Linked DNA regions of Homo sapiens: region 2 is linked to region 1. Evidence: promoter capture Hi-C in human tissues and cell types (Jung and others, 2019). All regions are on one chromosome and are shown on one strand. Each heading gives the region's core, a stretch centred on a gene start or on the middle of the fragment in contact. The rest is flanking DNA. Distances are from core to core; before and after follow the strand shown.

What was found. Contacts are between HindIII fragments. The study calls those that stand out against the background at their distance.
Region 2: a contact is called between a fragment that was not itself captured here and the fragment with the promoter of HERC6 in region 1, in 1 of the 25 tissues and cell types used here (mesenchymal stem cells).

Annotation. Positions count from the first base shown.
Region 1 is chr4:88,377,096-88,380,452 of GRCh38, forward strand. HERC6 (HECT and RLD domain containing E3 ubiquitin protein ligase family member 6) reads left to right here and starts at 1,757. Exons shown (of 23, transcript NM_017912.4): 1 at 1,757-2,025. The coding sequence starts at 1,827. RefSeq lists a silencer at 1,980-2,169 and an enhancer at 2,180-2,509. The HindIII fragment of the contact is 12,273 bases long and covers 1-3,357 here.
Region 2 is chr4:89,014,302-89,017,658 of GRCh38, forward strand. All of the region lies in intron 3 of FAM13A (family with sequence similarity 13 member A), which reads right to left. Among named protein-coding and RNA genes, the nearest start is that of FAM13A, 41 kb to the right of the region's middle. The HindIII fragment of the contact is 6,922 bases long and covers 1-3,357 here.

The DNA.
Region 1 (3,357 bases), core at 507-3,006:
AGGATTGCTTGAACCTGGGAGGCGGAGGTTGCTGTGAGTTGAGATCACGCCATTGCACTCCAGCCTGGGCATCAAGAGCGGAAACTCTATCTCAAACAAACAAACAAATAAATAAATAAAAATCAGTGCTCAATCCTTACCTTGCTCCACAAGAAATTGACAGAGTTGATCCTTCCTTTATTCGTTACTTGCTCTGTCTATAACTCCTCCTCCTGGTTTTCCTCCTATGATCAGTCCTCTAGCCTCTGCTATACTGTCACCACATTCACCCCCTGGGTGTTCTCATTCAGCCATCTGGCTTTAAGCATCACCTCTACACTGATGGCTCCCAATTTTCTGACTACACCCAAGCTTCTCTCTACAACTCCAAAACAGTTTATCCTATTGCCTTCTTGATTAACAAGCATCTTACAGTTATCATTACCAATCTGTATTCCAGACACACATAGCTTAAACCTGCACCTTCCTCAGGGTTTCCCAGTCCAGTAGAGTTTACCTTGGAGTAACCCCTAAAGCCAACCCTGGAGTAATCCCTAATCCCTTTTCTTCTTTCCCCCCAATTTCTAATCCATCATCAAATCTGTGGACTCTTACTTTCAAAACATGTCTTGAATCTAATAACTTCTCCTCTCTTCCCTTCTAGGATATCACCTGACCTGAACTCTGAAGTAGTCTCTGCTAACTGGCTTTCTGCTTCCATTTTTGTCCTATTATTTTTCACACAGCAGCCAGATGAATCTTTAAAAACTGAAGTCAGATCATGGCTCTTCTCTATTCAAAACCTTCCAACTGCTTCTTTTCATCCTCTGCCCTCAGGTGTGATCACGACTCATTCCCTCATTTCCCATGTCCCCTCAGCTCTCTGCACAAATATCACTTCATCAGAGAGATCTTCCCTAATATCATCTCAAATACCAGTGCCTTCCGCCTCCACCCTCTGGTTCCTGTTGTATTTTTCGTTGCCCCTTGATATTACACTATGTGTTTATCTGTTTATGTTCTCTTTCCCTCAGGAGAATGTAAACGCATCAAGAGGATCTTGTCTTTCACTAATTGTATTTTCAGGCGGGGCCCAGAGGCTCACGCCTGTAATCCCTGCACTTTGGAAAGCTGAGGGGTGGATCACTTGAGGTCAGGAGTTCGAGACCAGCCTGGCCAACATGGTGAAACCCCATCTTTACTAAAAATACAAAAATTAAGTCGGGCGTCGTGGCGCATGCCTGTAATCCCACCTACTCGGGAGGCCGAGGCAAGAGAATCAGCTTGAACCCGTGAGGTGGAGGTTGCAGTGAGCCGAGATGGTGCCACTGCACTCCAGCCTGAGCAGCAGAGCGACACTCCATCTCAAACAAACAAACAAACAAACAAACAAAAAACAAACATATTTTCAATGCCAAAAAAGGTCTGGAATGAGGTGGGCACTCAGATGCTTTATTAACCACTCTAGGTATTATTCTAACACTTTATGTGCCTATTAAATTATCCCGACATATTAGATTTGCTGAATTGCAGTCCATATTTCGTAGATATGATAGCTGAAGCACGGAATCATTAGGTAACTTGCCCAAAGTGGCATTCACGACTCATAAATGGCTTAGGATGTAAACTCAGTTTTATTCCCTGGGACGCCCTCTCTGCTCTTCAGCACTTGAAGTTCAGGCAGCGAGAGTTGACATGGGGCCAGGGCTGCGCCCCTGGGGCGGGTTGAAGACAGGGTGAGTCTCTTGATATTCAGGAAATCATCGCGCACCCAGTCACCAGCGTTCGGGAGCCTGTCGCAGCGGGACCGACGGAATCCGGAGCAGGCGACAGGGCGCAGAAGCGGGATGTACTTCTGTTGGGGCGCCGACTCCAGGGAGCTGCAGCGCCGGAGGACGGCGGGCAGCCCCGGGGCTGAGCTACTGCAGGCGGCCAGCGGGGAGCGCCACTCTCTGCTGCTGCTGACCAACCACAGGGTCCTCTCGTGCGGAGACAACAGCAGGGGTCAGCTGGGCCGCAGGGGCGCGCAGCGCGGGGAGCTGCCAGGTGAGCGGGGGGCCCCAGGTGCAGGGTGTGAGGACCCCAGTACATGGGCGCGGGGGCTTGGGTACCGGGCGCAGGGAACCGGGTGCGGAGCGCTGGGACCCGGGTGAGGGGCGCGGGGGCCCAGGTGCAGGGAGCGGCTCAGATGCTGGGCGCCGCGGGCCAGGCAGGGAGGGGTGCTGGGAGCCTTGGATTCCTCGGGGCCCGAAGAGCCACAGGAACCAGGAAAATGGTGCCCTGTGCTACCGAAGAGCAACTTCCTCAGTTTCGTTTTCCCAACGCCCCTCGGATTTGTTTCGGTTTCCAATTCAAGTTCAAAGCGAAACTGAGAGCCGAAACTAACCTGGTCAGCGCTGCTCTGGAAAGAGATGTGGTCCCTCCGGCTTGCCTTGCAGATAAATCCTCGCCTGCGCGGTTCTACCTGGAGAAGGCAGCCTGACCTTACAAACGTGGTTTGTGGGTCAGACACCTGTATCTCCCTTAGAAATACACTGGGGCATTAAAAAATATATATATATAAAAATATATATATAAAATATATAAATATATATAATATATAAATATATACAAATATATAATATATAAATATATAATATATAAATATATATAATATATAAATATATAAATATATAACATATAAATATATATAATATATAAATATATATATAACATATAAATATATATAATATATAAATATATATATAACATATAAATATATATAATATATAAATATATATATAGCATATAAATATATATAATATATAAATATATATATAATATATAAATATATATAATATATAAATATATATAATATATAAATATATATATAATATATAAATATATATAATATATAAATATATATAATATATAAATATATATATAATATATAAATATATATAATATATAAATATATATAATATATAAATATATATATAATATATAAATATATATAATATATAAATATATATAATATATAAATATATATATAATATATAAATATATATAATATATAAATATATATAATATATAAATATATATAATATATAAATATATATATAATATATAAATATATATATAATATAAATATATATATAATATATAAATATATAATATATAAATATATATAATATATAAATATATAATATATAAATATATATAATATATAAATATATAATATATAAATATATATATAATATATAAATATATATATAATATATAAATATATATATAATATAAATATATATATAATATATAAATATATATATATAATATATAAATATATATATATAATATATAAATATATATATATACACATAATAGGCCGGACGCGGTGGC
Region 2 (3,357 bases), core at 593-3,092, 640 kb after region 1:
TGATTTAACCCATTACCACTATGACAGCCATCACTCACTATTTACCAAAAACTGGGGAAATAATTCTTATTTTTTAAAAAGTATTTCTTAAATGTAAGTGTACCTCACATTTATTTCAATGTTTAATAACAGAAGTGTTCTGGGTCTTCAATTAGAAGTTTGGTGATGTTTTTGTAACCAGAATCATGCCATCAGAACTTAACTATTGTGGGAAGTCAGGGATCCCGAATGGAGGGACCAGCTGAAGCCATGGCAGAAGAATATAAATTGTGAAGATTTCATGGACATTTATTAGTTCTCCAAATTAATACTTTTATAATTTCTTACACCTGTCTTTACTGCAATCTCTGAACATAAATTGTGAAGATTTCATGTACATTTATCACTTCCCCAGTCAATATTCTTGTGATTTCCTATGCCTGTCTTACTTTAATCTCTTAATCCTGTCATCTTCATAAGCTGAGGATGTATGTCGCCTCAGGACCCTGCGATGACTGCGTTAACCGCACAAATTGTTTAAACAATATGAAATCTGGGCACATTGAAAAAAGAACAGGATAACAGCAATGTTCAGGGAACAAGGGAGATAACCATTAAGTCTGGCTGCCTGAGAGCTGGGCAGAACAGAGCCATATTTGTCTTCTTTCGAAAGCAATAGGAGAAATATCGCTGAATTCTTTTTCTCAGCAAGGAACAGCCCTGAGAAAGAGAATGCGTTCCTAGGGGGTGGTCTCTAAAATGGCCGCTCTGGGAATATCTGTCTTTTACGGTTGAAGATAAGGGATGAAATAAGCCCTGGTCTCCTGTAGCGCTCCCAGGCCTATTAGGACGAGGAAATTTTGGTCAGACTGGTTGTCTGCTCTCAAACCCTGTCTCCTGATAAGATGTTACCAACGACAATGTGTGCCTGAAACTTCATTAGCAATTTTAATTTCGCCCCGGTCCTGTGATCTTACCCTGCCTCCATTTGCCTTGTAATATTTTATTACCTGGTGAAGCACGTGATCTCTGTGACCCACACCCTATTTGTACACTCCCTCCCCCTTTTGAAAATCACTAATAAAAATTTGCTGGTTTTGCGGCTTGCGGGGGCATCACGGAACCTGCTGACATGTGATGTCTCCCCCGGACACCCAGCTTTAAAATTTCTCTCTTTGTACTCTTTCCCTTTATTTCTCAGACTGGCTGACACTTAGGAAAAATAGAAAAGGACTCATGTTGAATTATCGGGGGCGGGTTACCCCGATACTTAACTTTTGTTTGTATTAATCTGCCTGTGATAAAATTTATTTCCTGATACATCATTTTACTTAAAGTTGCAGTTTCCAAGAAATTATCAACAACATTAAGTGAAAACTTACTATACTATACATTTTATTATTTTAGAGTGTACCCATTCTATTTATACATATATGTATAAAGTGCATTTTAGAGTGTACTCATTCTATTTATATGTATGAAGTTTATATATATATAAAGTTAACTGTAACACAGACTCAGATACACATATACATATATACGTGTATGTTAACTGCAACACAGACTCAGATATACATATACATATATATGTGTATGTTAACTATAACAGACTTAGATACACATATACATATACATACATATATACGTGTATGTTAATTATAACACAGACTCATACACATATACATACATACATATACACATGTGTATGTTAACTGTAACACAGACTCAGGCAGGTACTACGGGAAGTATTCCATAAGAAGGCATTGCTATTGTAGGAGATGGCAGTTCCACAAGTGTTACTGTTCCTGAAGACTTTCCATTGGAACAAGATATGGAGGTGGAAGGTAGTAATATTGATGATTCTGACTCTGTAGGCCTAGACTCACATCTGTGCTTATGCCTTAGTTTAAAAAAAAAAAAACACAATTTTACAAAGTAAAAAAAGAAAAAAGAAAATTTTAAAAATAGAAAAATATTAAAATTATATGATGAAAACAATTTGTAGAGCTATGCAAGGTATTTGTATTTTAAGCTAAGTGTTATTTTAAAAGAATCAAAATGTTTTTAAAAGTTAAAAAGTTATAAAGTAAAAAAGTTACAGTAAGCTAAGGTCTATTACTGAAGACAAAACAAATTTTTAAATAAATTTAGTTTAGCTTAAGTGTACAAGATTTATAAAGCCTACAGTGGTGCAGTAATCTCCTAGGCCTTCATATTCACTCACCACTCACTCACTGACTCACCCAGAGCAACTTCTAGTCCTGCAAGCTCCATTCATGGTAAATGCCCTATACAGGTGTACCATTTAAACAATCTTTTATACTATATTTTTACGTACCTTTTCTGTTTTCTTTTTTATTGTTATTTCTTTTGAGACAGGGTTTCACTCTGTCACTCAGGCTGGAGTGCAGTGGTATGATTATGGCTCACTGCAGCCTTGACTTTCTAGGCTCAAGTGATCCTCCCTCCTCAGCCTCCTGAGTAGCTGGGACTACAGGTGCATGCCTCCACGCCCTGCTAATTTCTTAATTTTCTGTAGAGATGCGGTTTTGCCATGTCACCCAGGCTGATCTCAAACTCCTGGGCTCCAGCAATCTGCCCACCTCAGCTCCCAAAAGTGCTGGGTTACAGGCATAAGCCACAGGCCAGGCCTACTGTACCTTTTCAATTTTTAGATATGTTGAGATACACAAGTGTTTTCTACTGCATTACAACTGCCTACAGTATTCAGTACAGTAACATGCTGTATAGGTTTGTTGCCTAAAAGCAACAGGCTATGCCATATAGCCTACGTGTGTAGTAGGCTATACAATCTAGGCTTGTGTAAGTATACTGTATGATGTTCACACAACAATGAAATCACCTAATAATGTATTTTTCAGAAAGTATTTATGTCATTGATGCTTAACTGTAATTTTTTTTTACTGAATGACTCAAATCTAACCAGAGATTTTAAGGGAATGGAAGAATAATACCAACATAGCAAAAATTTAACCTCTCTTCCCATTCAAAATTTGTTACCTGTGCATAACCTCACATAACCTAAAGGCTGACTATACAATGAGTCTTGCTTTTAGAATGATACTGCTTGCTTTTATGACACCTATCAACTTTCTGATGACTGAGGAATCACGTCATAAAGAATATGGCGACTCACAAAGACCTAAATGATTACAAAATAATTCTATAAATAGTAATAAAAATAATAAAACAGTACATACTCATATCAAATGAAAACTATTCTGGAAATGTGATAAAAGCCTTTGAAATTTATAGGATTTTTGAGTACTAAGAATACTTAATAATACAGAATACTATAGAATAATATTAAGAATACTAAAGATATCTGACTACCAAATATTTTGCATTAAGCATAAA